Linked DNA regions of Homo sapiens: region 2 is linked to region 1. Evidence: promoter capture Hi-C in human tissues and cell types (Jung and others, 2019). All regions are on one chromosome and are shown on one strand. Each heading gives the region's core, a stretch centred on a gene start or on the middle of the fragment in contact. The rest is flanking DNA. Distances are from core to core; before and after follow the strand shown. Region 1 holds the start of RGS12 (regulator of G protein signaling 12). Region 2 overlaps NSD2 (nuclear receptor binding SET domain protein 2).

Evidence for each region. Contacts are between HindIII fragments. The study calls those that stand out against the background at their distance.
Region 2: a contact is called between a fragment that was not itself captured here and the fragment with the promoter of RGS12 in region 1, in 1 of the 25 tissues and cell types used here (psoas muscle).

Annotation. Positions count from the first base shown.
Region 1 is chr4:3,289,586-3,294,615 of GRCh38, reverse strand. It overlaps RGS12 (regulator of G protein signaling 12), which reads right to left and starts at 1,595. Exons shown (of 18, transcript NM_001394154.1): 1 at 1,517-1,595. RefSeq lists an enhancer at 221-806 and silencers at 1,460-1,509, 1,520-1,999, 2,180-2,289. The HindIII fragment of the contact is 22,100 bases long and covers 1-5,030 here.
Region 2 is chr4:1,932,917-1,938,103 of GRCh38, reverse strand. NSD2 (nuclear receptor binding SET domain protein 2) reads right to left here. Exons shown (of 22, transcript NM_001042424.3): 7 at 2,842-2,960. Among named protein-coding and RNA genes, the nearest start is that of MIR943, 51 kb to the left of the region's middle. The HindIII fragment of the contact is 3,686 bases long and covers 813-4,498 here.

The sequences.
Region 1 (5,030 bases), core at 346-2,845:
TCAGCCAACATGGCCTCCCCCACCTGCAGAGCATCCAGCTGAGGCACCACGCAGGGCCCGGGCACCGGATACCCATCATCTCAAGTCCCCAAAAGCACTGGCCACGATGGACCTTTTTATATCGCTTTTTCAGGGGAAGAAACTTCGCACTGTGACAATTACTTTCTAAAGTGAAATATAAACTGGTTCTCCCTTACTCAGAATTGCTCTGCCCTCCCCACGTCGCCTTCTCTAGGGGAAGGCCAGCAGGACTCCACCCCAGCAGCCCTTGCTGCCCAAAGCCGCCTCTCTGCCCTCCTTGGTAGTCTCCTTGCTGTGAATGGTGGGGCTGCTGCCTTGCCTGGGAAGGCCCCCCAGCGCCCCTTCTGTGCAGGCCTTGCCGGCCATCCTGCACGTCCCTGTGGCCTCAGAAGGGCCCTGCACAGGACGGCATGGACCACGCTGAGGACTTCAGACAAAGACACTCTTAGCCCTTGCAGCAGCTCCAAAGACAGGTCCAATGAGGAAACTCAGGCACAGAGAAGGTGGTCACCTGCCCAGGGACACATTCCCAGCAAGTGACCAAGCAGGTGAGAGGCCAGGTGGTCCTCTCTGTCCACACTCCACGGCTCTGGGCCCCCTCTGTGTTCACCCTCCACTGTCTACACTCCATGGCTCTGGGCCCCTTCTCTGTCTGCACGGCTATGAGACTCTGTCTACACTCCACAGCTATGGGTCCCCTCTCTGTCTACACTAGATGGCTCTGGGCCCTCTCTCTGTCTACACTCCACGGCTCTGGGCCCCCTCTCGGTCTACACTCCACGGCTCTGGGCCCCCTCTCTGTCCACACTCCACAGCTCTGGGCCCCCTCTCTGTCTACACTCCACTGTTTATACTCCATGGCTCTGGGCGCCCTTTCTGTCTACACTCCACAGCTCTGGGTCCCCTCTCTGTCCCCATTCCACAGCTTTGGGCCCCTCTCTGTCTACACCGCACGGCTCTGGGACCCCTCTGTCTACACTGCACAATCGCGGCACCGCGGCTGAGGCGACCCCAGGTCGCTGCAGTGCGTCTGGAGTTCGGGTCTCGGAAGGCAGCTTCTGCCCTAACAAAGCGGCCGCTCGTGGAGTCCGACGAGGGAACCCTCCCAGCGCTCCCGGGCGCATCTCGCCCGCGGGACCCCCTGCCCGGCGCCGCCCCCGCGGGTCCCGCCAAGGGCCCGGGCGGGCCTCACAGCGCGGGGCCCCAGGAGGCCGCGCACCCGCCCGGCCGGAGGCCCCACAGGCCCGCGCCCCGCGCCGCCCGCCCCCGCCCCCGCCCCGCCCCGCCCCGCGCCGGGCCCGGGACCAGGAGCCTGAGTCAGGCCGGCGAACAAAAGGCAGGGCGGGCGGGCGGCGACCCCGAGGGGACGGGCGCCGCGCAGGGCTGGCCGGGATCGGCCGGGAGGCGGAGGGCGCGGGCGCGCGCCCCGGAGACGAAAGAAAGAGCGGAGGCGGCGCGCCCTGCCCCCGCCCCGGCCCCGGCCCCGCACACCTACCGGGCCGCGCCGCTCGCTCCCGCTCCGGGCGCTTCGGCCCGCGCCACCGCCCGCGCGCGCAACGGTCGCCTCGGCAGCCACCGCCCCCCGGGGTCGAGGCGAGGGCGGGGCCGAGGCCGGAGGAGGGGCGGGGACGGAGAGGGGCGGGGCGAACCTGGTGAGGCGGGGCCAAGGGGGTGGGGTTGGGGCGGGGCGATGCGGGGGCGGGGCACGGGGCGGGGCGAGGGCCTTCGCGTCGGGACAGCGTGGTAACGGGACTGCCAGGGAAGCAGGGATGAGAAGAAGCGAGGGACGGGGCCTCCACGGCCGGGGGCGGGACTTCCGTTGGGGGCGCGGCGGCGCTGGTGCGCACGGTGTGTACCCGCACTGGCCCGGCCCTGGTGCTGGGAGCGACTGCGTTCCCGCAAGCTGGTTTTCTCTGCCTCCGCTGGCCCGGGACACCCTGCGAAGGGCAGGTCGGTGTGGCCGGGAGGAGCCGCCCCTGCCTGGGCTGTCTCTGTCCTTCGCCGTCGGTGTCCGAGGAAGTCCCGCTCCCGTTGGGTCTCTGTGCCCGGGAAACCTGGCTGTGGGGAGTCAGGCCCCGGCGCCCTGGCTTTTCGGCTGGGCAGATGCCCGGAGCTGGCGGCAGCTTCGGGGGCGGCGTGAGTTCCCGCGGCGAAGCCACGGGGACAGCCAGGAAAGGCCGTTCCCTCCGGGCCCCGGGACGCCCGCGAAGGCGGCGCGGTGACTGCGGCGTCCAGCGGGTCTGCCCCTCCCGGAGCGCGGGCAGCAGCGAGGGCGGGACCGGAGGCACCGCTGGCACGAGAGGAGGAGCTGCCCGGCCCCGGCCTGCGCCTCTGGCCCTGTCCCAGCCGCCGCCTTCACCCTTTAGGCCGGAGTTCCTTCCTCGCCCTCTTCGTGTCTTCCTTCCCCGGCGCTGGGTCTCCCTGCCCCTTCCTTCCTGCCTTCCCCTCATTCTCTCCCGCCGCGTTTTTCCCTCGAGACGCATCCGTCGCTGCTGTTCACGCTCCAGCCCTGCCGCCCGCCCAGGGACTCGGCCCCTCTCGGGTTTGCTTCTTTCCTGTCACCTGCCTTGATGGGCTCAAAACGCTTCCCCTCCGTCCCCGCCACCGCCCCATGGTTTCTTGGCAGCTCTCCATCATCTAGTCTTGTGTGATTAGTTTGGATCCCAGGAGGAAACCAATGGCATTCTCAGTGGGACAATTAATTAAGAGTCCAGCAGGGTTCCCGCTGGCAGAGGCGCGGTCCGGGAGCCGGGAAGCCACAGGGCGGTGCTGAATTGGGACAGGTAACAGCAGGGAGGGAACTGTTTTCACCTGCAGGGCTGAAGGAGCGCGGCCAGAGCGGTTACAGGAAGCCAGACAAAGAGAGAGAGATACTTAACAGGAGCTGCGACCTATGGCCAAGGGACACAGCCAGCCCTTGATGACCCAGCAGAGAGAGCCAGGGAAGAGGCCAGGCGCGGTGACTCGTGCCAGTAATCCCAGCACTTTGAGAGGCTGAGGCGGACAGATCGCCGGAGCTCAGGAGTTCGAGACCACCCTGGGCAAGATGGCAAAACCCCATCTCTACTAAAATACAAAAAATTAGCCAAGCGTGGTGGCACGCGCCTATAGTCGAAGCTAGTTGGGAGGCAGAGTCAGGAGAATCACTTGAGCCCCGGAGGCGGAGGTTGCTGTGAGCCGAGATTGTGCCACTGCACTCCAGCCTAGGTGACAGAGTGAAACTCCATCTCAAAAAAAAAAAAAAAAGAGCCAGGAAAGAAACTGCCCCCACCCTGGCCCCCCCAAAACTGTGGACCTTCTTGGCTCCTGCCTATGCGCAGATGGTGGAATCTTCCAGAGCAGCGCCAAGCCAGAAGGAAGCAGGCCGCAGAGCTCAGCCTCCTGAGGCTCCAGGGCAGGGACAAGTGGCCCTGAGTGAGAGATGGGGAAACACCACCTGCAGGTCTCTTCTTTCCCTTTGGCTTTTTCCTCTACACTTGCCCGGCCTCCAGGTGCCTCATGGACAGGGGTAGGGGAAGAGGACGAGCAGCTCATACGAGGGGTCACCGAGCCTGTGAGAGAACTCATGCCCAGCAGGGGGGTGGCCCAAGAAGCTGTTTCTGTGGGAGGAAGCACCCTAGTCCATCCCCGTGAAAGCCAGGGCCCCCAGAAGTGGGGAGAAATTGCCTGAGACGGAGAGAAGGTGTCAAGTGTCATGCTGGAAGGTTTTGAAAAGGTAGGTCTTGCCAATTAAGCAAAACTCATTCAGTCCATCTGGAGGGGCTAGACACAGAACCATGCCCAAGTCTCTGGGTGGTCAGTCCCTGGCCCCTGTGGTTCTCCTCCTGTAGGCTTCACTCTTGGGCCCAGACTGGCAGGGCGGCCTCTGTTGGCACAGGGAGGGCCATGGAGAAGCGTGCACCTGCTCTTCCGTGCCTGCCAGGCAGCGGCTCAGCGGCCCTACCCACAGCTCATAGGCTACAGTTGCTTAAGGAGGCACTCCTGAGTTGAACAAGTGGGATGGATGATAATTCTTCCACGGGACTCGGGGTGTGGGGGCGTCCCCCCACATTCCAACACAGGCTACGACACGGATGACCCTTGAGGACACTATGCTAAGTGAAATAAGCTCGTCACAAAGGACAGATACTGTCTGATTCCACTTATAGGAGGTTCTTAGAGTAGGTACATTTATAGAGACGGATAGTAGAAGGGTGGGTGGCAGGGGCGGGGGAGAAGAGGACAGAAGTTATTGACAGTTTCAGTTTGGGAAGATGGAAGCATTCTGGAGATGGGTGGAGATGTTTGCTCAACAGTGTGAAGGTGCTTGATACCCCTGAGCTGTACCCTTAACAATGGTTAAGATACAGCCATTATGGAAAAGAGTATGGAGGTTCCACAACAAATCAAAACTAGAACTACCGTGTGATCCAGCAATCTCATTGCTGAGTATGTATCCAAAGGAAATGAAATCAGTGTGTCAAAGAGACGTCTGCACTCCCAGGCTCAGCACGGCACCACTCACAATAGCCGGGATGTGGAACCCACCTAAGCGCTCGTCGATGGATTAGGTGGATAAAGAAAACATCGTGAATTACTGAATACTCTGGAGCCTTAAAAAGAAGGAAATGTGCCATCTGCAACAACACAGATAAACCTGGGGGACATTATAACAGTGAAATAAGCCAGGCACAGAAAGACAAATATTGCCCGGTCTAACTTACATGTGGAATCTGAAAATGTCCAAGTCACAGAAACAGAGAGTAGGATGCAGGTTACCAGAGGCTGTGGGTGGGTAGGAATTGGGGAGACATTGGTCAAAGGGCACAAAGTTTCAGCTATGCAGGATGAATTAAGTTCAGAAGATCTATTGTACAGCATGATGACTAGTCAATAATAATGTACCCTTGAAAATCTCTAAGAGTAGATTTTAAATGTACTCATCACAAAAAATGGGATGTGAATGATGGGACACATTAATTAGCTTAATCACTCTGTAGTGTAAACATATATCAAAGCATCAGATTGTA
Region 2 (5,187 bases), core at 1,406-3,905, 1.4 Mb after region 1:
TTGAACATGCACCTAGACTCTCCACTGAACCCAAAGCAGAGGATGAACATGAGAAAAATGGATCCTTCCATTCAAGAGGTGCCCAATCAAGTTAGACTCAGCCCTGCTAAGTCAGGACCAACATTACTAGTATCACTATACTGAGGATTTCCAATTTTTAGACAAACACCAGATACACCTAATGAACAAAGATCATCAGTAAAACATGTCACAACTGAGAAAAGCAAGAAATGGGAGAAGGGATCATGAAGCTTTTCTCAAGGGCTGAGATTCTGAAAGGTGTGGCTGAAAACTGTCCTGTCCCCATAGCACTAGAGCAGCGCTGCCCAGGGAATGACTTGCCACTCCTGCACTCATACTCCATCTCACCCACCTGCCTGGAACCAGAGCCAGTGAGACAGGATGCGGTGAGGTGGAATCCAGAGGATCATGGACAAGGCGACAGGAGAATGCACTTGGGACAGTGCCTAGCATGTCAGAAGTGCTCAGTGCACATTGGGTGTCATATGTGGTTTGGCTCAGGTTTATAAAACCCAAATCTGAAGAGACAAGACACCATTACTTCTTTTTATCATGTGCTATCTCCTGAGATAGGAGCTAATAAAACATTACTAGCCACTTAATGTGAATTTTGGTATTCTGAGTGTCTAGGGTCATGTATTTTTTAGGTATAACATTTACACAAATATTTCAAAACAACCAGTTTCAGTATGATTGCCAGCAAAGGGCTGCTTTAATAGAAGGTAACCTGGCCAGCCGCAGTGGCTCACACCTGTAATCCCAGCACTTTGGGAGGTGGAGGTGGGCGGATCACTTGAGGTCAGGAGTTTGAGACCAGCCTGGCCAACATGGTGAAACCCCATCTCTACTAAAAATACAAAAAAATTAGCTGGACATGGTGGCACGCACCTGTAATCCCAGCTACTCGGGAGTCTGAGGCAGGAGAATCACTTGAATCGAGGAGGCGGAGGTTGCAGTGAGTGAAGATTGCACCACTGCACTCCAGCCTGGGTGACGAAGTGAGACTCCCTCTCAAAAAAAAAAAAAATTAGGTGACCAGAGCAAATGTTAAGTGCAGGCTTCCTGGTAACTACAAACCTTAGTGACTACAGGTGAATCTGACCTAGCTTACTGCTGAACACTTGATCACTCAACAACCTCACCTATGGCAGGTGCCCCAGAAGAATGTTCTGTGGGCCAGAAAAATGGCGCAGGGCCTGCCTGCTCCTCTCAACTACAAATACAAGTTTAAAGAAATAAGGTAAATGATATGGTGTCCACATATTTACACCTTAGCAATATGTGAGATGTATTTTCCATTCTTTGAAATAAAAAGAGCATTTTAACTCAGATCAGTGAAAAACAGGATGAAGCTTTACTCAAAATCACAAATATACAACTACTCTGTCAGAACTTTTTTTTTTTTTTTTTTTTTTGAGATGGAGTCTCCTTCTGTCACCCAGGCTGGAGTGCAGTGGCGCAATCTCAGCTCACTGCAACCTCCGCCTCCCAGGTTCAAGTGATTCTCCTGCCTCATCCCGAGTAGCTGAGATTACAGGCATGCACCACCACACCCGACTAATTTTTGTATTATTAGTAGAGATGGGGTTTCACCATGTTGGCCAGACTGGTCTTGATCTCCTGACCTCAGGTGATCCACCTGCCTCAGCCTCCCAAAGTGCTGGGATTACAGGTGTGAGCTACCACACCCGGCCAGAACTATTATCGAATAAAATAGAAATTCAAACAAAGTACAAAGTCTAATTAAAGTCTCAGTTCATGAAAAAGTTAACCGGACATCTGAGACAGTTGAAATGAATGGCACCACTTCATACACTAGGAAAAGGGCTCACGTCTTCTACATGCATGGGCACCATACGCTAGACAGAATAACCCGGTGTTTCCTTGGTTGGTTTCACTCCCCTGCAGGTACCAGGCAAACTCTGTCCCTGGACACATGCTGGCAGTAAGCGAGGAGCACAAGGACCCGGGGCTGGCTTTGTATCTATGCTGCACTTTTCCTGCACAGCCTGTTTAGTATTCCCATTCAGTAAACAATAACATGAATTACTAATAAACTAAATAAAATCTAGGTTCATTGCCTTTAATGAACTGTTGACTTTTTATTGACATGTAACACATATCTCTAATGGACTTTGATGCCAGTTCATTACTTACATCCTGAATAATAAGCCCTATAGAGAGGTTATGGTGTTTGGGGGTTTTTTTGTTTGTTTTTTTTTGAGACAGAATCTTGCTGTGTCGCCCAGGCTGGAGTGCAGTGGCATGATCTCAGCTCACAGCAACCTCTGCCTGTCAGGTTCAAGCAATTCTCCTGCCTCAGCCTCTTGAGTAGCTGGGATTACAGGTGCACGCCACCATGCCCAGCTAATTTTTTGTATTTTTAGTAGAGACGGGGTATTACCATCTTGGCCAGGCTGGTCTCGAACTCCTGACCTCAAGCAATCCACCTGCCTCGGCCTCCCAAAGTGCTGGGATTAGAGACGTAAGCCACCACACCCGGCCAAAGAGGTTATTTTTAGTGACAATTTTGTCCAATCTAAAAAACAAGTATTACTCAAAGCATTTGGATGTCTGTTTTCTTGCAGAGCAACACACCATCGGTTTCTGTGATAACACCCCTGGAGGGTAAGAACCTGCAAGCAGCCTTTCTCAATGGGGTTCTGTAAGAAATGCAAGCCTTCTGCTGAATACCAGCCTGGAAGGAGCTGGGTGCACTGACACCTGCATCTCATGTGTGCTCCCATGCAGGGAAACAGTGGCACCAAGAGTCACAGAGCATACACTCTGACAGGTCAAGCAAACCTGGAACACAATTACCTTCCGAAGACTGTGCTTGTCCGTCCTGAGTCTTTTCCTGGGTGTGTCCTCAGCTTCAGCATCTTCTGTAGGGTCCTGTATCCTCTTTGTGTGGTTTCTTTTTTTCCCATTTACATTACCTTGGAATGGGGAATGGGGAAAATGTACATGAAAACCACTCCAAAAGCTGCATTTGAAGCACTGTGAGAACCTACCCAGGGCATTCAACATACAGATCCAGCCCATGATGGGTTTCCTGTAACCCTGCTGATTTCCAGGGCTTATGTCTTACAGATCAAATCTCTTTACAACAAAAAAACTGGTGACTATATCTAACCTTAGGGATTATATTAGCATCTGTTTTATCTGTTTTTTATATATATATATATATATATATATATATATTTTTTTTTTTTTTTTTTTTTTTTTTTTTTTTAAGATGGAGTCTCGCTCTGTCACCCAGGCTGGAGGGCAGTGGCACAATCTCAGCTCACTGCAACCTCCGCCTCGTGGGTTCAAGCCATCCTCCTGCCTCAGCCTCCTGAGTAGCTGGGATTACAGGCACGTGCCACCACGCCCAGCTAATTTTTATATTTTTAGTAAAGATGGGTTTTCACCATGTTGGTCAGGCTGGTCTCGAACTCCTGTCCTCGTGATCCGCCTGCCTCGGCCTCCCAAAGTGCTGGGATTACAGGCGTGAGCCACCGCGCCTGGCCTTATAATTATAATTTAATGTATTAAAGCATTAAATTTAAATATAACCCAGTATTTTATCTATTTATTTATTTTTGAGATGGAGTTTCGCTCTTGTAGCTCAGGCTGGAGTGTAATGGCACAATCTCAGCTCACTGCAACCTCTGCCTCCTGATAGCCCAGTATTTTAAAAAAATCTTTTCCTAGGCCGGGCATGGTGGCTCATGCCTGTAATCCCAATACTTTGGGAGGCTGAGGTGGGCGGATCACCTGAGGTCGGGAGTTTGAGACCAGCCTGACCAACATGGAGGAACCCCATCTCTACTAAAAATACAAAATTAGCCAGGCATGGTGGCACATGTCTGTAATCTCAGCTACACAGGAGGCTGAGGCAGAAGAATCGCTTGAACCCAGGAGGTGGAGGTTGCAGTGAGCCGAGATTGTGCCATTGCACTCCAGCCTGGGCAACAAGAACGAAACTCTGTCTAAAAAAAAAACGAAAAACAAAAAAAAAATCTTTTCCTTACTAACATTCAAAGACTTGTGGAATTTAAGTTGAACTTAAAAAAAAAAACAACTTGCTACTTTTTAAACATTTCCTTAAACATGTTAAGTAGTAACACAACATTTATATATGCAAATTAAGGGCTTCCTCCATGTTTGCTCAGCTGTTCCATGTGTTAGGTGTTCCCAGGAATAGCAGTTAATCCAAGACCTAAGGCATCCAAACAATATCAACCTAAGACGGTAAGGTGTAAGTGCAAATTCTACAGAGATGATTAATTTCAACATGCCAATGTTTATTTTAAATATAAATCCAATATTATCATTTGCATGACTGCTTTACGGAGGGGTTCAGGGTTTTTATTAATGGACTCTTCATAAAACATCTTGCAGGGCCGGGCGCGGTGGCTCACACCTGTAATCCCAGCACTCTGGGAGGCCGAGGTGGGTGGATCACGAGGTCAGGAGATCGAGACCATCCTGGCTAACAGAGTGAAACCCCGTCTCTACTAAAAATACAAAAAAAAAAATTAGCTGGTCATGGTGGCGGGCGCCTGTAGTCCCAGCTACTCGGGAGGCTGAGGTAGGAGAATGGCATGAACCCGCCAGGCGGAGCTTGCAGTGAGCCGAGATCGCGCCACTGCACTCCAGCCGCCTGGGCGACAGAGCAAGACTCCAACTCAAAGAAAAAAAACATCTTGCAGAAGGACACTGTTGCCCTGAAGGACGCTGTCACCCTCAAGCCTCACTACTGTTGGGACAGGAGACACCAGCAAAAGAGTGCTCAGCTCCACAGGGTCCAGCAAGGCCTCAGGCAGAGGTACAAGTAAGTGTCCGTGCCCTGCTGCCAATGCATTCACAGAGCCTCACCTCAGGTCTAGGCCTGAGCCCAATGCGCAAGAAGAGTCAGCAGCCAAAGCGTGGGGGCCCTCACCAGCTGCAGTTCCAGCCTGGTGTGATGGGGGCCAGGCAAGCAGCCCTCGTGAAGCCCACTCCTGGCCACACCACTGCAGGCTGGTGCAAAGGCAGTCTGGGGAAGAAGCCCGTGGAATGCTCGGCAGCAGGACCTGCTCAGGCACTGCCAAGCATAGGCACCACATGGCACAGCCAGCCAAACTCTCGAGGCCCCCCTCAGGCAGGTCTGCCTTCAGAACACCCGTTCGTGAGCAC